Linked DNA regions of Homo sapiens: all the other regions are linked to region 2. The links are contacts of gene promoters, found by promoter capture Hi-C in human tissues and cell types (Jung and others, 2019). All regions are on one chromosome and are shown on one strand. Each heading gives the region's core, a stretch centred on a gene start or on the middle of the fragment in contact. The rest is flanking DNA. Distances are from core to core; before and after follow the strand shown. Region 1 has its middle 67 kb from the start of LINC01505. Region 2 holds the start of ZNF462 (zinc finger protein 462). Region 3 overlaps LINC01505 (long intergenic non-protein coding RNA 1505). Region 4 has its middle 110 kb from the start of LINC01505. Region 5 overlaps LINC01505 (long intergenic non-protein coding RNA 1505).

What was found. The method cuts DNA at HindIII sites, captures the fragments that hold promoters and counts their contacts. A contact is called where the count stands out against the background at its distance.
Region 1: a contact is called between a fragment that was not itself captured here and the fragment with the promoter of ZNF462 in region 2, in 1 of the 25 tissues and cell types used here (H1 embryonic stem cells).
Region 3: a fragment that was not itself captured here is called in contact with the fragment with the promoter of ZNF462 in region 2 in 1 of the 25 tissues and cell types used here (heart right ventricle).
Region 4: a fragment that was not itself captured here is called in contact with the fragment with the promoter of ZNF462 in region 2 in 1 of the 25 tissues and cell types used here (heart right ventricle).
Region 5: a contact is called between a fragment that was not itself captured here and the fragment with the promoter of ZNF462 in region 2, in 1 of the 25 tissues and cell types used here (H1 embryonic stem cells).

The regions. Positions count from the first base shown.
Region 1 is chr9:106,680,208-106,685,095 of GRCh38, forward strand. It overlaps the pseudogene RN7SKP77. Among named protein-coding and RNA genes, the nearest start is that of LINC01505, 67 kb to the left of the region's middle. The HindIII fragment of the contact is 6,203 bases long and covers 1-4,888 here.
Region 2 is chr9:106,860,121-106,864,821 of GRCh38, forward strand. ZNF462 (zinc finger protein 462) reads left to right here and starts at 3,046. Exons shown (of 13, transcript NM_021224.6): 1 at 3,046-3,235. It overlaps LOC105376204 (a long non-coding RNA gene), which reads right to left and starts at 400. Exons shown (of 1, transcript XR_005646978.2): 1 at 1-400. The HindIII fragment of the contact is 13,314 bases long and covers 1-4,701 here.
Region 3 is chr9:106,663,657-106,668,091 of GRCh38, forward strand. It overlaps LINC01505 (long intergenic non-protein coding RNA 1505), which reads left to right. Exons shown (of 7, transcript NR_104145.1): 4 at 1,097-1,221; 5 at 2,901-4,066. Among named protein-coding and RNA genes, the nearest start is that of LINC01505, 50 kb to the left of the region's middle. The HindIII fragment of the contact is 6,710 bases long and covers 1-4,435 here.
Region 4 is chr9:106,727,329-106,731,942 of GRCh38, forward strand. No RefSeq gene overlaps it. Among named protein-coding and RNA genes, the nearest start is that of LINC01505, 110 kb to the left of the region's middle. The HindIII fragment of the contact is 3,529 bases long and covers 120-3,648 here.
Region 5 is chr9:106,641,288-106,646,179 of GRCh38, forward strand. All of the region lies in intron 3 of LINC01505 (long intergenic non-protein coding RNA 1505), which reads left to right. Among named protein-coding and RNA genes, the nearest start is that of LINC01505, 28 kb to the left of the region's middle. The HindIII fragment of the contact is 3,951 bases long and covers 658-4,608 here.

The DNA of each region.
Region 1 (4,888 bases), core at 1,750-4,249, 180 kb before region 2:
CTCTCAAAGTCTACATTCTTCATCATCAAGTGATATTACCTCTCTAAAGAGAAAATTGAAAAATTCAGGAAGACTGCTCCTTATGGGTGGCCAGGGCCATATATAGTAAACATTCCTTAACTATCTCTTAAATGAAAATGAGTGAGTGAAAAATTTATCTAGAATCTTCTGCTGGTTCATTTTCAGATTTCTTCCATTTACAGAACAGACTTCCCAGGAGTCCTCAGGCCAAGTCAGAACTGTCTGACTTGAGTTTTTTTTTTTTTTAATGGAGTTTCACTCTTGTCACCCAGGCTGGAGTGCAATGGCACAATCTGGGCTCACTGCAAACTCCACCTCCTGGATTCAAGCAATTCTCCTGCCTCAGCCTCCCAAGTAGCTGGGATGACAGGCAACCGCCACAATGCCCAGCTAATTTTTTTGGTATTTTTAGTAGAGACAGGGTTTTGCCATGTTGGCCAGGCTTGTCTCGAACTCCTGACCTCAGATGATCCATGTGCCTCGGCCTCCCAAAGTGCTGGGATTATAGGCATGAGCCACCATGCCCAGCTGAGATTTTTTTAAAGAGAAAAATCTAACCATTGACCGTATTGGACATGAACAAGATGCCAACAGCTTAAGCAGCATTGTCCAACAGAGCTTTCTGTGACTAAGGAAACATTCTAGAACTGCATTGTACTATCTAGAGGTAGCCACCTGTGGCTGTCCAGTACATGACATGTGGCTTGTGTGACTGAGAAACTAAATTTTAATTAATTTTAATTAATATTAATTGAAATAGTCATATGTGGCCATTAGATGGCAAAGACATTTCATTCAACAATTATTTATTGAACACTGAGCTAGATGATGTTAAGCACTGAACTAGGTGATAAGTGAGGTCAAAACTAAAACAATTCCTTGTCCTCATGGAGCTACAGTCTCATGAAGCTAGATATCAATCAAATAATTATACCAATAAAAATAAGATTGCAATAATGGTGATTGGTATGAATGAAGGTTATAAAGTCTATTGAGATCTGGATTAATCTGAGTGTCTCATGGAAGTTTCCTGAAGAAGGAATATTTGGGTCTGATCTGATGGATGTTAACCAGGTGAGAACCTTCCCTGTAGAGGCAAATTGCCTGGTAGTGACAGACTCAGTGATCAAGGGAGCTCAAAACAGGCATATACTAGAATCTCCCAGGCACAATACAACTTCTATCTCATCCTTCTCTAGAGCCAGCCTTCCTACAGTTACATGCATGCCTAATTGCAGGGCTGGGTAGGAAGCCCCTCCCACTTCTACTCTCTGCCATGGCTGGCACATCTCACAGGTTCTCATGCTGAAATCTCCTCTTCTACCATCTACTACAAGTCTGCCCACCATACAAAGGGTGCTGCTTGGCTGTTTTAGGCTCATGGCTCCTTAGAATGAACTGTGAAGGTTATGAGAAGAAGAACATTTAATAAGCTTAGTGAGCCTCTTCTCATTGCTTTCTTCTTTCCTTCCAATTAACATTGCGGTCTCACTTCTCCCTTCACGTGGGACAGTCATTTATTCTTTTCTCTGGTGGTTACTCTTTCCAGCCAACCTCTGACAATCTACCTTTCTGATGCCTCTTGCCAAAGGCATCTTACAATCTCAGGGGAGGGATGAAGGTTCACATACATAACATAATACAAGATGGCAGGTATTGAGTACCATCTTCATGGAACAAGTAACAATAAGCACTTAGACAATAATAAATCAAGGGAGACTTCACAAAGGGATGATATTGGGCTATATCTTTAAAAATGTGTGCACACAGGAAAAGGAAGCCTTTCTAAGAGATAAAAATGTACAGGCAAAGGTCAAGGGCAGGGAAAGGCAAGAACTGCAACTAGAATTGTTTGGTTAGAGCCCTGAGGGAAGCAAGGCAAGCCAGACAAATTGAAGCCAGATGGCAAGGGGCCTTGAGTGTCACATAAAGCTATTTGAGCTGTTTTCATTAGGTAACAGCCACTGGAAATATGGGGAGGCCTGAGCTAATCTGAGCAGCATCTCACAAAGATGGATCTTAGAGTCATGTATGGAAGAATTTCATTGGCTAAGAGACCAAAGTCAAGGAAACCAGAACAAAAGCTTTTGAATGGCCTTGCTTGGGCTTTCTAAGGCTTCACACTTTCTAAGTGTGCTGACTCTTTCTAAGTGCCTGACTCTTTATTGTACACCTGTTTTTGTTTTAATGTATCTATTAAACACTTACTAGACATTCACCAGGCATGTCCAATGCCAGACAACAAAGTTGACCTCCATCCTAACACTATGTTTTATTCATCCTGCATCCATAAACTCTAGCAGAACTCAAGTCAAGTAGTAGGCACTTAACAGATACTTGTTGAAGGACTGGTCAACTTCGGTTGCTAAACCATTGTAGCAACAAAGATAACAACAATAACAACAGCATGAGTAATGTCAGAGGTGTTTGAATCAGAGTGCCTCCATCTTGAATAGGGGCTGGGTATAATAAGGCTGAGACCTACTGGGCTGCATTCCCAGACAATTAGGCATTCTAAATCACAGGATGAGATAGGAGGTCGGCACAAGATATAGGTCATAAAGACCTTGCTGATAAAACAGGTTGCAATAAAGAAGCCAGCCAAAACCCAGTAAAACCAAGATGGTGATGAGAGTGACTTATGTTCATCCCCACTGCTACATTTCCACCAGCACCATGACAGTTTACAAATGCCATGGCAAAGTCTGGAAGTTACCCTAGATGGTCTAAAAAGGGGAGGAACCCTCAGCTCTGGGAACTGTACACGCCCTTCCTGGGAAACTCATAAATAATCAACTTCTTGTTTAGCAAGTAATCAAGAAATAACCATAAAAATAGGCAACCAGCAGCCCAGGCTGCTACTCTGCCTATGGAGTAGCCATTCTCTATTCCTTTACCATCTTAATAAACTTGCTTTCGCTTTGTACTGTGGACTCACCCTGAATTCTTTCTTGCGCGAGATGCAAGAACCCTCTCTTGGGGTCTGGATGGGGACCGCTTTCAGGTAACAGTAATAAGAGTGACATCAGGGCATCACTCTGTCCCAGGCAATGGTATAAGTGCTTCACACAAATCAATTAATTTAATCCTCACAATTATCTTATGAGATAAGCATATTACTGTTCCTGTTTTACAGACAGGCAAACTGAGACCCCTAAGAGAAAGGTCTTGCCCAAGACATCACAGATATTAAGTAACAGAGCTGGATCGCAAACCACAGCAACAGATCAGAGCCTATGTTCTCACTCAGTATCTCACACCTCCTTTCATGGGGCTGTCTACTGATTTCTGGACTCTTCACCTTCCACATTCTGCTTTATGTCTAGAATAGCAAGAAGCAGAGATACTCTCCAAGTAAAAGTTCATCCAGACAGCCCACTTAAGAATTTCTGGAAGGGAGGATTTCCCTCCCTCCCACCTCTATGGTCATTATGGTCACTGTCAGCCAAGAGAGGCCATTCAGAGGTACATCCTGAGACAACATGAAGGATCTTTGTGGGAAAAAAGCAGAAGAGATGATGCAGGTGGCCTCCTGGGAAAGTGGAGGCAACCTGAAATTGGATAATGGGGTCCACCCTACACTGGGCATGAGGTAAGGAATTTTACCTTCTCACAATTCTCACCTGTGATGGAAGTATTATTATTCTCAGATAAATTGCCTAATGTCGCACCACTAACAAGGGGCAGGGCAAGTCTGTCTGAACTCTTTCCATCTCACCTCTCTGCCTCTGCCTCTACAATAATGGTGAAATTGGGGTGAGGACAAGAAGGAGAGAAGTGAGGGGTCATTTGTACCCCTCACCAACAAATGAAAAAGCAGACATTTGGAGAAGAATCATTTATATTCTATGAGCATCATCATTAGGGTTTTGTGGGGAAGTGGGGGTTGTTCTGTGTTTTTGCTTTTGGCATGAAAACTAAATCTACCACATATTTTATCAAAATGACATAGCTATTCCTTGTTATAAGAAAACTCACCACACCAAACCATTGCCATTACAAAGTGCATTAAAGTAGCAAATTATTTTTATTCTGCCTAAGTATATAAATTACTAAATTTTTGAGGCTTCTCTAGTAAGTGTCATGCCAATGCTATTATCTTAACCTGGTTCAATGAGCCTTATCTTGAATATCACCTAGTGTTCATAATGGAAATTTTAAAACAAAAATCTGAGGTCAAACAATATGTATTGAAAGCAGACACCTGGCCTGAATGACACAACCTCAGGTCGTTCAGTGATTCTCCTGATTATCTGTATTTTTGAATAGAAGAAAATGGTTTTTCAGATTTGTATTTAAATATCAAAATAACAGTAGTAGAGGCAAATCTCCAAGGCCTGATATTGTCTTAGATCCACAGTTTTTAGTATTTTTCCTTCAACTCTTCAGTGGGATAAAATCATTACAAAAGTCCCCTTAAGATCTCATTAAGAGGAGACCCCATGAAGCTGACCCCACAGGGAGATATAGGTAGGGTACAGCCATCCTATCTCATAAAGAAAGAACAAGCCCTTTTGATGAATCTCAAACTGTCTTCATCTTAGTCCAAATGTAGGAGTTACATGTGAACCAACCAATCGACATCTCACTCCTTATAACTAACAGTGCCTGCAGAGGCTGTTCTTGGGCTCTTTCTGAGGTGTTGACTGAAGTCCTAAGATGCAGAGTCTCTGGTTTCTTCCCAGAGTCCCTGGGCTTGGTGGAGGTCCTGGAATCCAAGCCACAGTGAACTCATGATCCAAGGGTTTACTCACTGGTTCATGCAACAGGGAGAGAGGCCCAGTTCACCTGGGGCTGGTTTGGAGGGTCTAGAAAATATAAAAAGTGAAGCTCTCCTGGCCCACAGAGAAAAGGTAAGAAAGTGTGT
Region 2 (4,701 bases), core at 1,796-4,295:
CTCCCCTTTTTGTCCTCTTCTCCCGGGACGGGAGGGTGGAGCCAAGTCCCCCCGCGGCCGGTTCGGGAGCTTTCTCTATCTCGGTCGCTCGAGGTGAGTGTGAAAGGGCGGCAGCCCGTTTAATTGCAGCGCAGGTTAATTTCTTGAGTTCACCGCAGTCGGTCCGCCAGCCGCTTCCCCGGTCTTTGCCAAGTGGGTTTACGAGGTCTGAGGCGTGTTGGGGCGCGCTCACGTTCTCGCAAAAGGCTCCTCCCCAGGGCTCAATTCCCCGACTGCGGGAAGCCCTTTGGTGCCCCAGGAGCCTTGGAAACCCAAGGTTTCCTCTGACCTCGTCGCTCCTTTCTCCCTCCCCACCGCCTGGTTCCCTACGTCCCTGCCCCCAGGGAAGGACGGCCCCCATCTTAGGACTTACGACCCAAGCCAACCCAGAAGGTACCTTCACGTCGATGAAGATTTTATCGCAGCCTCCAAAACCCAGCAGTAATAGGAGCTTTCAACCTGAAATACGATTGTTATTTTCCCGGTGCAGAGCTTGACAGAAAAAGTCAGCTTTTTATTAAAGACAAAGAGGTAAATTATCAGCCGGGACAGTGGAGGGACGGCGGAGACCTGGCGCGCTTCCTCCGGTTGCCACGAGGAATTTATGGGGTGGCGGCGGCCAGCGCTCAGACACCCCCCGGGTCCCGGTGGGGAGGAGCTCGGGGCAGGAGGACTTCCCTAGGTCCCTCCGGGCACTCGGAAGGGGGAGTCCTCCCAAAGCCGCACAAAGCCGGGATCATTTCAATCCGGAACAGCCTCAGCGTCCTCCTCCTCTCTCCTTTCTTCTTTCTCTTCTCGGTGACTCCCGTTCCCCTTTCGCCTCTGTCCTTTCTGCGCCTTGTTCTCGTCTCCTTACTTCTCTTCCCTCTCCTCGCCTTTCCTCTCCCTCCCCCTCCTTTCTTCTCCACCGCACGCGTAGAGTGTCATTTATTTATTTATTTATCACCCCCGCCATCAACACCCTTTTAGGGATCCCGAGCTTTTCAATGTGAGTGGGAGGAGAAAAGGGCAGGAAGTGTTGACTGGAAGTGGGTGAAATCGTGCCTCGGGGTGAGAGATTCTGCTCAGGAATATAGGGTCGGGAAAATCTTGGAAAATGAGGATTTAGATCTGTTTATGAAGCCCCGCTATCGGATGGGAACCAACTCCGCGCGCGTCTCCTCCTCTTCCTTTATTGTATGGATTTATAGGTATATATCTTCTCGGACTGTTGCTTGGGGGGAGGGAGGAGAAAGGGCGAGTATTTAAAGAGGACAGACTTGCCCAGGATCCTTAACACCGCGCCTTCACCGGATGCGCGCTCCTCAATGCAAAGGAATCCAGCAACATCCCCAATTCAGACGCGGACAAAAGAAACTTTAATTAAGGTCTCTTTCTGCCCCGCGCGCTGCGCGTTTCTCTCTCCTGAGGCTGTTGATGTCCAACTCCAAGATCCAAGAAATAGAAATGGTACAATCAGCCCATGCCCTTGAACTTCAATTGCTCCTGACTTGCTGCATTGATTTTTTTGATACTGTAGAACCCCCATCCCCAACCCCCACCGCTCCCAGTCCAATTAAAACCGTAGGAGACTTTCGACCTGGTGGTGGAGGGGGGGAACCACTCCTTTGCAAAAGAGATAGTTCAGAATGATACGGGAGAGATTACACTAAATAAAAATTCAAGGTGTGAAAGCTTCATCTTGGCTCGCGTGTCTTCAACACCATGACACCTTATCATTAAGAGCGCTGATTGTTACTTTCCGAGCCTTTAGATGATCAGCCAGAAAGTGCAAACAACGCGGGGCTGGAGGGTGTAAAGTTATTTAAGCAGGCGTTCTTTTTTTCTTTTGGTGCGCAGTCAAAACATTTCACAAGTTAGGAAAAGAAAGTGGTGGTTCCGAAGCTCGGAATGATGGGCTCTTTTCCTCCTCCACCCCCCCACCTTCCATATCAGGAAAGAAATAAAACGCACAATGAGCCTTTATTTCAGGAGAGAAGACTTCAAAATACGTGCCAGTAATGGACAATTTGAGCTTTTCACTGGAAATACTCACACCGCAAGCTGGAAAGGGATTAAAAAGCCCCACGTGGTTGATCTGGGTTTATACTTGCAACCTCCAGTTCCCCACGTATGTTCTTTGCAAAGGTTGGCCTCTAGATGGATGCAAGTAAGGGACCCTCTGGGGCTCGGGCTCGGCGCCTCGGGCAGGGCTGACGTTGGGAGCGCTATGAGCTGCCGGGCAGGGTCCTCACCGGGGGCTTCCTCTGCGGGCCAGGGCTGCCGGGCGCCACCGGGACGCGAGCGCGCACGCCTCGGCCCGGCGGCCGCGCTCCTCGCACCGCCTTCTCCGCAGGTCTTTATTCATCATCTCATCTCCCTCTTCCCCTTCTCCTTCTCCTTTGCCTCCTTCTCCTTTGCCTCCTTCTCCTCCTCTTCCTCCCCCTCCTCCACCACCACCTCCTCCTCCTCTGCCGCCGCCACCTCCTCCTCTTGCATCTCACTGGCCTGGCTCTGAGTGACAAAGACAATGTCCCAGCCTTAACTTTGCAACCACCTTGCCTCCTTCTGGGGTTCAGCAGGGGGGAGGGGGAACAGCAGCAGCAGCCTCAGCATCTCCTCCAGCTTCTCCTTCTGCTCTTCTCGAGCTCTTGGATAATTCTTCCTCTTTTTTCCCCTAGCCTTTTTCCTCATTTCTTTCTTTCTTTCTTTTTTTCCTTCCTCTCTGCTGCACGTTGTTGTTGTTATTAGAAAGGCTTCGCGCACCCCCTGGTGCTCCGGCGTTTTGTGTGGCAGGAGAAGATTGTCTTCCTTCTCTCTTTCTGTCTTGCTTTCTCTCTCCCCCTGGTTGCTCATTATTCAGAGAGAGACACAGAGGGAGGGAGAGAGAGAGAGCGCGCGAGGGAGAGGGAGGAGAGGAGAGAGAAGAGGAGAGAGAGGGGAGAGAGAGAGTGAGAGGGAGAGGGAGGGAGGGAGAGAGAGAGAGAGGGAGAGAGACGGATATCTCAGGTCATCTGCAGCTGCAGCGAGTCTGAGGAGCCGAGGAAGGCAGGGAAGATGGCGATCCTCCATTGCTGAGACCCGGCAGAAGCACATGAGACTCCCAAACAACTTCCACAACAATAACCCGAGCAGGAAGAGGAGAAAGAGAAAGAGGATAAGGAGGCGGTGGGGCTGGAGAACCCGAAGCACCTCCCGGCGCCGGGACGCTTCTTCTGTAAGTTACTGCAATTAACAACCACCTCGGGGTGGTCCGAGTGCTCCGGGGAAGAGAGCGCGGGGTGGTGGAGGCACAAACGCGCTCATTCATTCGGCCAAGGAGGGTTGGAGGAGCGGGGAGGAGAGGAAGTCCCCTGCATGGACTGGCTGTTGGAAGAGGAGAAGAAGCGAGAGAGAAGAGGAGGAGGGGGAGGAGGGAGAGCAGGAGGGGGAGGAGGAAGAGGAGGAGGAGAAGCGAGGGAGGAAGAGGAGGAGGAGGAAGAGGAGGAGAAGGTGGTAGTGGTGGCAGTGGAGGTGGCTGTGCTTTTCCTGCTGGCTGCTGCTCCTGCTGGGGGGAGTGAGCGCGGTGGCTTAATTAATTTCGTGTAGTTCTATGAAGAGAAGAGAAAATGAAAGATGAGTGAGAAGAGAGCTGGAGGCTTAGGACGGATGCTCCGAGTGTGGGGACAGGAGTAGGGACAGAGGGGGGCGGAGGGCGGGAGGCCGGAGACCTGAGCCGAGAGCCAGAGGGAGCGAGCGAGGGTCAGAGGAGGGAGAGCTCCGTGCGAGCGGCCCCGACCTGAGCGGGTTGACCTCTTTCTTTCTCTGTCCCTCTCCTTCCTTTCCCCCTTCTGTCTGCCTGTCCCCCGCCCGATGGCAAAGCCGTGCGGATTGGCAGCCCCCCTCTTCCTCAGGTATTTGGCTCTCTCTCTCTCTCTCTCTCTCTCTCTCTCTCTCTCTCTCTCTCTCTCTCTCTCTCTCTCTCTCTCTCTCCCTCTCCCCGAAGTTGGGATGCGGGGTCGGGATGTGTCGGGGGGTGGCTGCTGCAGCTGCTGGTGCCGGTGCTGCTGGTGAACAGAGAGGCGAGGAGCGGGGGGCACCGGCCGGGTGGGGGGCGCAGGTTCAGGAGCGGCTGAGGAGCTGTCTCCAGGCTGGAGGTTCAGAAGCGTCTGGTGGAGGAGGACAACGGTTTCTGGAGAGGAGAAGCCATTACACACGCTTGGCTCTCCTCTGAGGAAGGGAGAAAGGAAGGCAGGGGCCTGGGGGGGCGTCTCACTCCTGGTGCAGTTCCCAGGGGTCTGCCCTCCTTCCAGGCACGAGGGGAAGCCGCAGCCGCCCCCCATTGGAGCAGCCCCTCTTTCCCTTTCTTTATCTCCCTGTCCTCCATTTGCAAGCTGTCTGCTTTGGTTCCAGTCCAGACTCCAAAACACAAAGCTCCTTCTCACGTTCATTCTCCAGGCTGTTCACCATTCCTGAAGGAACCCTCGTTTTCTTTTCATTGTGGCTTCTAACCTACAGAGAGGGAGGGAGGGAGGCTGCCTGGAGTTCCTTTTATATTCCTCCCCAACCAAGAAAAAAAAAAGTTTCATTTTTAAGCACGCGTCTGGGATGGGGAAAGACCAACCAGTTGGGGCTTTCTCCCAGGGCTCCCGGGGGCTGTGTCTGAGTGTCTGTGTTGGCTGTTTGGTTTGCTTTGGTTTTGTT
Region 3 (4,435 bases), core at 1,041-3,540, 200 kb before region 2:
ATTGAGCTCATCTTACACTTTTCCTGCCTCAGCCTTGGAATCAACCCTTTTTCCATGGGACCTTGTTTCCTTTTAGCAAAAAATTATATTTGGAAAGCAAGATATGGGAGCCCGGTGTGCACATTGCTACTGGAATGGCATTGTTTTTAGGTCCTTTCAGCAGTAAGAAATATATGCATATGTATATACATACATTAACACACATGCATATACATACATACATATATATACACATCTATGTTTATTTCTACATCTATGTGTATATATATATACATATTTTAAAACAAAGCTATGAGTTTACTCCTGTATCTCCAGTTCCAATCTAACACTTCAGGTTTCTCTCTAGACTTCTCCATTCCATATTTATAAATCTCTTCTCCAATTATGCTCAATATTGACTCTGATATTTTAACAAACTTAAGAGCAACGATCTTTTCTTGCCTTTGCATTCACCAGAGAGCTGCCAATGTGTTCAAAATTCAGGGACTCGATAAATCAGTGCTGTTCTTTAGTGCCTGGGCCAGGGGCAACCTTGACTTTAGCAACGAAACTACAGACTGAAGAATTTTCAAGAAATCCGGAGGCTAGTTCTGTGCCTCACTGTCTGCGTGTGACAAGCGATCTCTTTAACTGACATTACGGGCTTCTTAAAATGAGAAATGAAAAAAATATTCTCAAAGTCTCTCTGAGACTCTCCAGAGACAGATGCTGTATAAATTTAAAGTGTAATCATTGTTGCTGTGTGGAAAAAATGTTCTCCATCCATCTTGTTCTACAATAGATGGAGAATGTTCTCCAGGATCACTGCTCTTCTCAGGCTTCTAAACAGGTAAAACAGCTAAATATTGCATTAGATGCAATGGCATCAGTCAAAATGAATTATAAGCAACACTTAACTCTCGTATTTTTAAAATTTATTTTACTTTAAAAAATGCAGCACAACATAGGGAATACACATGAACCTATCTTGCTACTTAAAGTAGGGAATGCTTTCAACTCAGGTCAGATGGGGCGTGCTCTCTAGGGTGAAGCAATAGACAATAAGCTAGAAGCGTCCAGGTGGCCTCAACCAAAGATAACTCTGTCTTTTCTTCAGTTTGCAGCATCACAGAAAATGATGCTCTCTCCTGCCAAGTCCCATTTTTTGGGAGGAGGAAATGGATTAGGTCCTGGAGGTTGTCATAAATGCATCAAGTGACTTTCTCAGCATCATCTGAAACAGTAAGTGAAGAACAAAAACTCAAAGAATGCTACCCTCTCCATTTACCTAACAGCTGCTTTCTGGCCTCCAGATGTAGTTCTCTTAGAGCATGATTATTTATTTCTGGCTATATTTCAGTCCATTAAACTTAGAGACTTATACAGACATAATCTCAGTTTCAAGCCCTGCCTAGGATCAGACAGAATAGCCAACATAGAGGGACCTTTAGGAAACTTCTTGTCTAATTGCATCTCTTTATAGATGAGAACATTTTATAGATAAGACTTGTCCAAAACAAGTTCCACTCTACCATGCTTTACTTCCCTCTCCCTTGTGATTTGTCCTCCTGATTCAAAAGCTGTATCTTGGTTAGAGGTCAGCTCTGGGTTTAGCTACTTTTCAAGATATCACAGTTCCTCAAAATAATTTTTGATTAAGAGAAAATGATAAACTAAGATTTTGCTCTCAGTCTCAAACTGCATGCTTGGCATAATGGAAAATGCATTAAAATGACTCTTATTCTAACACTGCCACCAACCAGTTGAGTGATCCTAACCTTTCTGAACCTTAGTTTCCACATCTTTGAAATGATAGTATTGGATTAAAATATCCACTCATTCCCCAAAAACGTACTGAACAAAATAGAAATCCTTCCCCCCACCTACTTTATTTGGCACTGGACCTTGGGCAAATTACTAAACCTATCTGTAACTCAGTTTTCTCATCTGTATAATGAGGAATAATAGAAGTACCTACTTCATTGCTTTGTTGTGAGGATTGAATGAGATGCCCACACAAAGCACTTACAACAGCAATTGGCATATATGGCAAGTGCTCAATAATTGCTTGCTGCTATTATTATTATAGTTATCATTATTATTATTACTACTATTCTTTCCATGCTCCTATTCTTGGCTCGTGCTGTTTCCTCTGCCTGAGTTGATCTTCCTCTCATCTGCACGTCCAAATCCTACCTGCCCTTCAGGGCCCACTTCAAATACTCTCCCAAGAAACCCTCCCTGATTCTCACCAGCTTCTTCCCTGGAACACCCACCCATGGTACACTGACATCACCATCTCATTTAAATATCATATATACTCATCTATTATCTGTCCCTCAAGGCTTCTTGATGGCAGGGTTTCCATCTGACTCGTCTTTGAATTCAAGTGGCTGGTGCAGAACCCAGCAACTTGTAGGGAATTAGTAAATATTGGTTGAATGAATGAGGTATAACATTGCTAAAATCGTATGTCTACACTGGTTGTATAAATGGTTATATCAATCCAACCAAGAGACATTTTTTTCTAAATGTTGTTAATTAAAAGCTGAGGATATAGAACCCCCCCTCTCAAAAAAGAAATCTACATTACTGATCCTAAATGCTAGTCCTTAGACCAGTTCAATCCAAATCATCTTTGGAGTTCTTTAAATATGTGAAAACCTGGTACCCATCTCCCAAACGTTCTCATTCAGTAGGTTTTTGTGGGAATGGAGGTGACTCAAAAATCTTTATTTTTAAAAGGCTTCACAAGGGATTGTGATGTATAGACAAAATGAGGATGCTCAAGTGTATATTATGTCTAACAACTTTCTTAAGGTTTCCTCCCCCAAATGACTAATTTTAATACGTAACCATAAAGTCCGAGAATTTTTTGCTCTTTTTATGTTGTCATAATCAATGGGTTTTTTTTTTTCCAGATTGAAGATCCTAAAAAAATGATAGCAGCTTTTAAGAAGGACTATAGTGGAACAAGCAATATTCTAAGTGACAAGAGACACAGATTCTAGAATAAACTTAGCCAAATATGTATGAACTCGAACAATCTCCTTTGCCTCTCCAGGTTTTAATTTCCCCATCTTTACAATGGAAGCAATGACAACAGCAGCATGCAGCTAGTTTGGAGATTTTGAAGTCAGATTGGCTATTTAGCATTAACCCACCATGGTGCTGGTTGATCTTGCTAGATACAAATCTGTCATAAGTGAAAGCATCTTGACGGTGTCTTGGAAGCTGACTGGAAAAATACTGCTTTTAGCAGTACCTTTAAAGCAACAGGAGCTTTTCTGCATTGCATAGAGACAGAATGAGCTTTGTGTAAACTGTGCTGTAGCCACGTTATTCTGAAAGCCCATTGGGAAGATGCCAATAGTAATTCAGCTCAAATAATCTCTATTAGCCATAACCCTTTTGGTTGCAAGAGACAAAAACATGACTGAAATTATTTTCGGCTAGAAGGATCGAGGAGACTTGCAGCATAGCTTTGAGAACAGCTGAAATTAAAGACATGAATGCTGCAAGTGTCTCTGCCACTCTTTGTGTATTAACTTTATGTGCTCAGCCTGGCTTCCTCCACACTGCAAGGGATATGGCTGTTGCTTATATTTTCATCTCCATCTTTGCCACCAGAGAGGGACTGCCTTTTGTCTTGTTCCAATTTGGGAATTCCTGGGGAAGGACTACTCTGGCTTGGGTCACATGTCCACACCCTGAATCAAACATCTGAGGTCATGGAGAAGTACACTGATTGGAAGATCCTACTAATATTAAAAAGTTTGAGGAAGAGAAGCAATTGCCTCTATAAAGGGATGCTACTCCTAGAAAAATGATGGGTGCTGAGAAGGCCAAATGATCAGTGCCTACTGAACTGTCCCATAGGTATTTAGGTAGATATGGGTAATAAAGTTCTTGTGAACTAGCCCACTACATGGAATGCAATGTAAGGAAACACAGCTTGGTTCTGACACCAACTAGCTGTGTGACCTTGGACCTCATCATTCATCTCTCTGAATTTTGATTACTTATATAAACAACTGTCTTCCCCCTCACCCCGCCTTGAGTAGGGCTCTTTGAGATTGGACAGAAGGTATTACTTATATTTACATCTGCAGAACTGAGTACAAAGTATAGCCCTTAATTAGTACCCCATGATGTGGGTGTTTTTTAAGTTAATATCCAAGCAAAGTTTTTGATGTTGCTTACTGAGATACTTGTAACAACTAGATTTTCTTAATGAAGAAAAGGGTGAATGGAAAATAAACAAACAGGATAAAGCCAAGTGCATACCATAAAGTACTGTTAGAAAACAATGATGATACATTTGCCTTTAAGCTTCCTAACAGTCAGAGCAAAGATGGGAGATGAAAAGACACTCTATAATTAGGGTTGCCAGATATAGAAAAATAATAACAGAAAGCCAAGTTAAATTTGAATTTCTGATTAAAATGAATAATTT
Region 4 (4,614 bases), core at 634-3,133, 130 kb before region 2:
TAGCTGTGCTGGCAGCTGATTAGATGGTGCCCACCCAGATTAAGGATGGGTCTGCCTTACCCAGCCCACTAATTCAAATGTTAACCTCCCTTGGTAAAACCCTCACAGACACACCCAGGGTCAATACTTTGTATCCTTCAATCTGATCAAGCTGACACCCAGTATTAACCATCATAGTAGTTGTTTTTCTCATAATATAGTCAAAATGCCCAGTTGAGCCAGTAAAGTTTTTCCACCTTGAGTGGATTACTTGGCCATGTGTTCATTCACTATAAAACAAATATTTACTGAATGCCTACTATGTTTTACACATAATGCTAAAATTTTCACGCAGTTTTCTCCCTGTGACTTAGGTTAAGTAGTTCATGCAAATTGAAAATGTTAATGTTATACACTTCTTTTTGTACTTATTTTCTAGTGTGATAGTCATTTTTAGGCTAGTAAACCTTCCTCATTTCTCCTCAGGAGAAAAAAAAACAATGTATTTGCATTAAGGAGGTTCCCCCTCATTTTTCAGTTATGTTCATCTCTATGACCCACTTATTTAGGTTCTTTGGAAAAGGAGAATTCACCCTGTGTGGGTCACCATATTAATTACTATTACAAGGAGCTGATTTATGGCCACAGAGCCCTTGCAGGTGTTTGAGAATGGTGCTCCACAATGGGAAATGGAAACAGGGTAATCAATAACCACCCTGAGACTCCTGCTTTAAGGCTGTCCTTGAAGGTGTGCTGTGGATCTTTTTCCAGCACGTCTGAAGAGCAATCCTTTTGCCAGCAAGGAGCCCTACGGGAGGAGAAGTAAATATTGTCTTTAGACATGGCACAAGGACCAAAGACACTGCCAAGACATCAATACTGAGATATCACAGAGGGCTTGTTGGTGGAGGAGGGAGGCTGGTCACAGGCGGGAAGGTGAGATTTCTTCTTTTGACTGCTGAGATCACTGGACTTGCAGTCAGAAGATCTGGGCTCCAGAGCTGGCTCTATCCTTTATCAGAAAAGTAACCTTGGACACATTACTTAATCTGTCCAAGCAACAGTTTTCGCCTCTGTAAAATAAGCATACTGATAGTACCTATACAATGTAGAGATTAGTTGAGATAGTCAAAGTTCTTTCTGTTCCAGGAAGTGCTTTCATATAGTCTTAATGATGCTTTTGCTCTCATTCTGTCCTTTTCATGTGAACTATGACTTTGGTGAGGGCAGGGCCATGCCATATATAATACTGTCTTTAGGCCTTAGCACAGGGACTGGCACACTGCAGGTGATGAAAGGTCTTTGTGAAGGATTGCATGCATCTTCCCTTCCCTTGTCTTCCTTCTACTTGCTTTCCACTTTGCCCCCTCTTAATTATCCCCAAATACATGTTGAATTTATGAGGGAGCAGCAGGGAGGGCCACTTTGGAGAGAATCATTACTCCACTCCCTTTCACTGCATGGCCTTTTCCCTAGGCTAGTCAGAGAGCTATTTGAGCTAGTTAAGTATAAGACCACTGAGTAAGAATGTTGACTTCCAACCAGGCTGCTATATCCCAGTTTTTTAGCTTAAAAGTGGCTATTGCGGTGCCTTAAATAAGTATAAATCCTGACCAAAAGAGAGCAAAAAGTTTAGCCTGGCTGAATTTTGAATCCAACCATAAACTAGAAAAAGAAGGAGCGGGAAGACTCACCACGAGGCTGTATCAATAGCCCCAGTGTGAGAAGGCTCAAAGAGTCTGGCCTGAAGCTTGAGCTACCACAGCAGTGAGATGATTTCTAATTTTAGAAATATTAAATAACTGATAATGATACGACCTTGTTAAAGAACCATGTTAGGAAAAAAAGGGACACTGTTAAAAATAGCGTACACTTTCCCTGCTGAAGGTTCCAGGTAAAACGTGGGTTCACAACCATAATGTAGGTTCCAGATGACGAGACAACCCACATTGCTGACAAATGTGGCAAGGCCAAGACTCCTGTGTGTCCTGGAAGATACGCATTTTCAGCAACCAGCAGGGCGGCTAAGTATAAGCACTGGGAAATCAAAGAAATAGGACTGAGTCCTTGTTCTCAAGGGGTGTGAAGTCTAGTCACCAGCCTAATGGTGACTCCAAGATATCCTAATTTTAATATGTGAAGCTGTGCTACAGTGCCCAAGACCTAACTGGGGAAAAGCAGCCTCATGCAATGCCTAGAAATGTCTGAAACATTGCTGCTGGCATCCTATAAAACAGGAATCTGAAATGCAAAACCGAAATAAAACCAGCAGGCCTCACTCTGGGAGGACAGAGAAATGGAAGATGCAGTAACCCTGGAAGGTTAACAGAACCCCGGATAGCTTCCCCATCCTGCCCAGTGCCACAGATAGGCACCTCTAAAGCTTGGCTACCTCAAGGATCATTAAATGCTTTTAGCAAAGCTGTCTCTGAGGAGCAACCAGCTTTGAAAGCCAAACTGAAAAATGTCCATCTGATCTTGTAATTGGAGAGAAAGTAGGATCTGTGCCATGATAACACATTAGAGTCATTTGGAGATGAGGGAAAGGAAGGGGTGGTCTCATAATTAGCAGGAGCCTGAGAGTGCAGAGAGGGGATGTTTCTGGAGTCAACACTGGAATTTACTTGGCATCAGATGCCATCAGTCCCTCCCTATGTGACTCTAAACACATGAAGAATTTGCTGAGTACACCTTGGCTAAATCTTATCTGAGTTTCTTCATGTCAACAATACTTCCAATCATACGGTTTAAAACTGGTTCTCCACAGGGGGCAGTTTTGTCCCCCAGGGGACATTTGACAATGTCTGGGGACATTTTTGATAGTCCTCAGTTGGAAGAGATTTTCTACTGGCATCCAGTGAGTAGAGGCCAGGGAAGCTATTAAACTATTTATTGTAAGACAGCCCTTCACAAAAAAGAATTATTCAGCCAAAATGCCAACAGTGCCGAGGTTGAGAAGTCATAGTTAAGAATAATGAATATTTTCTGAACTGCCATCATTTTCAGGATTCTTTTACTTTTATACCTTGAAAACAAAGGAATTGGCTTACCTATCATCACTACAGTAATAGAAAATTCCCAACAATTAAGATGCTCCAATGGTGTTTACTCATTCTTTTTTTTTTTTTTTTTTTTTTTTTTTTGCGGGGCAGCGGGGGGAGTCTTATAAACAGAGACCTTAGACAAGAGGTGAAGGGACTTCTGCAATACTGTCAGAGTCAAATACCTTGAGATTTCACTTTGTTCCCACATCTGAGGCCATCAGCCCTCGCCAGACCTCACAGCCTGAAATAATGTTTTGGAAAAGCCAAATATAAAGATACATGATTTTTTAATCTGCTGGGAGTGGGTGGGACCACACTACTGTTGAGAAAGATCTTTCTAAATAGTAGATTGGATTATGTGGCTCTCTTCTTGAAGCTTTCAATGACTGCCCACAGGACAATATATTGCACTGTTCTTCTCCATCTGGCTCCTACCATATCTCCAACCATCTCATCTTCTGGATCTTCCCAGCTCACATCATTTACCCCAGTTATACTGGATATCTTGTCTTCCCCAAGATGCAACTGTCCCATCACACTTTTCTTGTTTTTAAACATGGGAGTGTTCCCCTGCCCACAAGGTCCTCCACCCTATTTTCCAACTAACTCCTAGCTGTCTGCTAAGAATGATCTCAAATGTCCACCACTTCTAAAACTATTTTCTCACCTGGCCCCTGCTCCTTCCCAATACCCTGGCCTAAGTCTGGTGCCCTTCCCAGAAAAACCTGTATCTGCTTCCAGTATAATACCTACTGTCCTGAATTTCAACTAATTATGCATCATCTCTAGGCACTTTGAAGAGAAATGGTTTCCTGTTCATCTCTGTATGTACATCAACCCTCCGGGTATGGTGCAGGGCTTGAGTCCCTAACAAGCTTTCAACTACTATTTGGGAAAGAATAGAAGAAAAGTACAGGGTAGGGAGGAGGACAGGGTGAGGAGGGAAACAGAAGACAAGAAAGGAATGATGATGGAAGGAAGAAAGTGGGAAGTGAGAAAAGGAAAGAAAAGGCAGGAGGGAAGCAAGTAGACTGGGAAGGAGGAAAGAGAAAGGAGGAAAGGTGAGATGGGAAGAGAGGGAAAGACAAAGAAGGAAGAAGGAAGGGAGAAGGAAAGAGATCAAAAAGAGAGAAGGAAGAACTCTGCTAATATCTCTTGCTTAGAAAAGATTTATTCTGCTCTCTCTGACTTGAATCGAATCCCTGCATTAACTATCTTCAAGAACCACATAACTCTCTGGCATAGCACTTTCCCCATTTGTAATTATAGATGTATCTGTGTGATTATTTACTACAATGCTGCAGCCTCCATGAGGTTGGCTTCTACATTTTCCTTCAGTGTTATAGCTTCAGTACATATTGTGTCTGTGAAAATTATTTGCTAAATAAATGCAAAAGTGGGCAGACTGGTGGAGCAGAACCAGCAGCTAATTTTATTAGTAAAAAGTCAGCCCCTCTGTTTTTTATAAACCAGGCTGGGAACTTAGATTTGGTCTTGTTTAACCTTCACCTAAATTTTTCCATATTAAAAAACTTCTTCTGCTTCTAGAAAGAATTGTTCTAAAGCATTCAAGACAGTGGCAAATACATTC
Region 5 (4,892 bases), core at 1,383-3,882, 220 kb before region 2:
TAAAGACATCTTCAGGTAAGTTAGAGCTAGGAAAATATGGTGCCAGTAGGTATGCACTACAAAAAAAATGTTAAAAAGATTTCAAGCTAATGCCAAATTGAAATGCAAACCTACAAGAAGAAATGAAAAGCATTGTAAATGATAAATATGTCGATAAATACAAAACACTACTTTTTCTTTGAATTGCTTTAAGATGCTTTTTAAAAGAAAGATAATCGGTGGCTCAAGGCTATAATCCCAGCACTTTGGGAGGCCAAGGCACATGGATCACCTGAGGTCAGGAGTTCGAGACCAGCCTGGCCAACATGGTGAAACCCCGTCTCTACTAAAAATACAAAAAATTAGCTGGGCGTAGTGGCAGGCGCCTGTAATCCCAGCTGCTCAGGAGGCTGAGGCAGGAGAATCGCTTGAACCCAGGAGACGAGGTTGAAGTGAGCAGAGATCACACCACTGCGCTCCAGCCTGAGTGACAGAGTGAGACTCTGTCTCAAAAAAAAAAAAAAAAAAAAAGAAAAAGAAAGAAAGATGACAGTATATTGTGGGTTTTAACACATATGTAGATGTAAAAGATATGACAACAGTAGCAGAAATGATGGAATGGTAAATGTAATTATATTTATTACAAGTTTCTTACGTTTCTGTGAAATGATAAAAAAAATTATTTTAAATGGGTATAAATAAAAGGCAATAAATTAAGTATGATAGACATCTGAAAAATATTCAAATATTTGGGAATTCAACACACTTCCTAAACAAGCCATGAGTCAAAGATGTCACAAGGGAAATGAGAAAGTATATTGAACTGAATGATATGAAAAACACAACTTACCAACATTTGCAGAATAGAGATAAAGCATTGCTTAGAGGGAAATGTATAGCTTTAAATGAATACATTATAAAATATAAAAAGTTGATAATTAAAGCTCTAGAATTTCATTCTAAGAAACTCAAAGAAAGAAAATTAAAGCGAGTGAAAGAATGAAATAATAAAGAAAAATGGAAATCCACGAAATAGGAGATGGTTAAATAATAGAGAAAATCACTAACTGCAAAAATATATTATTTGAAATAAATAAAGTTGATAAACCCCTAGGTAGATTAATCCAGAAAAAAATACTAATATCCAATATCAAGAAAATATGATCTTCAATAAAAGAGATTACCAATATCAGAACAAAGGAAAGACATCACCGTAGATTCTACAAATAATGAAATATTATGAACATCATGCCAATAAATTTAATAACTTAAAATGCCAAAAGCACGAACCATCAAAGAAAACATCAATAAGTTGTATTTATCAAAATTAAACTTGCTGCTCATAAAAAGTCATTGTTAAGAAAATTAACATGCAAACCGGAAGGAAATATTTACAATACAGATTCCGACAAAGGACTTGTATCCAGAGTATAAAAAGAATTCATACAAGTCAATAACAACAACAAAAACGAAGTGTGTCTCCAGATGCCAAAATAGGATTAGAAGTGCTAGAGATGTACTGGTTGAAGTATCTGTGAAGATAAACTGGTGGGGGAGTAGTGGCACACAAACAAGGAAAGACATCTAACCCCAGGGCAATTCTGATACCTGTCCAAGATAAGAAAGAAAGAAAAATTGTCTAGGAAGAGCCTCAAATTGCAACACACTCTCAGAATATTTTAATCAGGCTGATGAATAATCTTTAAGCAAAAGTTGCCCTTTAGAGGAATCCTTGTTAGGTGGGCATAGGTTAGACTCACATTCCCCAGTGCTTAGGCACTGGTTGAAAGCAGCAATGGGGAACTGTCAATCAATTATATTTCCCAAAATAAGCTTTCTCAAAGGAGATCTGAGCAGCACACTCCTATGGATGTCAAATCACACAGTTTAAAGAAATAGGCAAAAGAATTAAACAGACATTTCACAAAGGATGATATATGAATGGCCAAAAAGAACATAAAAAATTGCTCTACATCATTAGTCGTGAGGAAATTACAAGTCAAAACCACAATAAGATACCACTGCACACACATTAGAATGGCTGTAAATAAGAATGTTGACAACACCAAATACTAGTGAGGATATAGAACAGCAATAACCCTCATATATTACCTGTGGGAGTATAAAGTGGTAAAACCAGTTTGGAAAATTGTTTGTCAGTTTTCTATAAAGCCAAATGTATACTGACTCTATATCTAGCAATTTCGCTTCTAGGTATTTACCCAAGAGAAATAAAAACAAATGTCCATACAAATGTTTGTTTAAGAATGTTCATAGTAACTTTATTCGTAATAGTCTAAAATGGAAACAACTCAAACATCAATTAATGGAATATTACTCAGCAATAAAAAAGGAATGAACTATTTATATACACAATAACATGGATAGAGCTCAAAAACATTTTGCTAAGCAAAAGAAGTCAGACACACAAGAGTACAAAGTGTGTGATTCACTTAAATGAAATGATAACATTTTTTGTAATGATGAGAAATAGATCAGTGCCTCAGATAAGAGGGTACAGTAGTTCACTGAGGAGGGGCATGAAGAAACTTTCTTGAGTAGTGGAAATGTTTTGTGTCTTGATAAGAGTTTCTGTATTCTTTGGAAGTCATGAAATGCACATGAAGAGAGCTGTGAATGTATACACACACACACACACACACACACGTATATATTATCCACCAATTAAAAAAAAATTAGGTACAACCCTAACCATAAACATCTGGTAGAGTCAAAAGTTTGCATATTACACTAAAATATTCAAAGAAAGTATAAGTTCTTTGTCTCATGATCTGTTCTTTCTCACGAATTCCCCTCCCACAGCTCTCTAGGTAGCTGGGAAACCTAGAACTGGAAATTTACAATATCTCAATCTTTTTTCCACTTTAATCTCTTTTCACATAAAATGTTGGATATATTTTAAGTTCACCTTCCTCTTAGAGATGGCTTAAAGTTTTCCGTATTTCTGGCTGCTCTTTTACTTTAGGTGAGTGTTTCATCTTATAGTGTCCTGAACCCTCCCTGTTCTTTATCCTGAGATGATTTCTGGATCTGATGACAAGGCTTCTTTGCATACTCTCAAAGCAGAGAGAAAAGGCGTAAGTTCCAGCAGGTGTCCTTGGATCCTCTCTTATCTTTACTGGGAAGCGTCCGATCTATTCTGATACTTGGACTGATCACTGTTGAGGTGTTATTGGCCCCATCTAGAGCAAGGTGCTGCTGTTGAAAACTGGAATCCATGGTTCTGGTCATATGTCCCTGTTTGGAAAGCCCCTAAACACAGTGCTGTCTCTCAGCTCCTCAGTGTCCCCTCAGCGAGGCTCACAGAAACTTCTGGATTGATTACCTGACATAGCTACAGACAGCCCTGTCTTTCACCTATTTATTTCCTCCCCAGTCATCACTGCTGTGTATAACCCTACACCATATTGAAAGTAGCCTTGTGAGGAGACTTCTCCTGAAAGCATATGACCTTCCTCTACTATCCCCAAGGTTGCTGGTGACTGTCTCCTCTCTACATCCTCCCACCATATTTTTAAATTCTTTCATGTCTATCTGGATATTTCTGACTCATCTCCACCCACATCTTCTATTTTCTAACGGCTGTATGTCCCCTATGTCATATCCTGAGTTCTTTCTACTCCCTTTGTTCTAATTGTCTAGGACTGACACTAGTTATGAAAGGCACAAGCCAACCTGGAACAAGAGCTCACCGTGAAAAAAAAAAATGCTGCACATTGCCCTAGTATCATCAAAATATTGTCCCATTACACACAAAATATTTAGTTCGGAGTCTATCTTTTTAAGTTGGACAGTCAAACTAGTTTTACTGTGTTTTATTTCTCTTCTATTTTTCTGGCCAGTTCTCCTACAGTCTTGCTAGCTTTTTTTTTTTTTTTTTTTTTGAGATGGGGTCTGGCTCTGTCACCCAGGCTGGAGTGCAGTGGCACGATCTCGGCTCGCTACAAGCTCCGCCTCCCGGGTTCACGCCATTCTCCTGCCTCAGCCTCCCCAGTAGCTGGGACTACAGCGCACACCACCAAGCCAGGCTAATTTTTGTTGTATTTTTTAGTAGAGACAGGGTTTCACCATGTTAACCAGGATGCTCTCGATCTCCTGACCTCGTGATCTGCCCGCCTCGGCCTCCCAAAGTGCTGGGATTACAGGCGTGAGCCACCGCGCCCCACCCAGGCTTGCTAGCTCTTTAACCAATAGCAGACAGGGTGGCAAAAAGAGCCATAATGTAAATCCCAGCAGGGCAGCACCTTTTAGACAATGTGATGCCCATACTAGTCTGATTAGGCTGGCAAAGTTGTGACTCAAAGTCTTTTAAAAAATGGGGGAGGGAGAAGAGGAGTACTAGGCATGATTACACAAACTTAAAGTAGGAAATTAAATTCACCAGCATCAAGTAAAAAAAATCTCAAAATGCTTAAAGATTGAAAATAGAGACATTTCTATTATAACAGTTACCTGAGAATACTCTCCTTATGGAGAGAGGGGCTTATTGGACAGAACCGACTAATCTGTGTTCTCCTCACCCCATCAACATCATATAACACCATCCCAAGGTACCATCATACTGTCCTGATATCCCCAAGGAAAATTAATCAAAAAATTATAATAATCAAAATTAATATAAAACATCGAAAGTACAAAATTTCAACTACTTTCCCTGTGAAATTTTGACCAAGGCTCTATTTGTTGTGTAACAACTTAAAGATCACATATTTTTCATCATGATGTAATATAAATACCAAGAAAGGCCATATCCCCACCTTCCTTGTTTTAGCAGACAGTCATTGCCATTTCATTGTGGTACATTTCACAGCCCTAATGCAATCACAACCAGGAGCCATTTATGAATTAAATTACTCTAGCATTGCCTAAATTTCTGTGAGAAAGCAGATTTA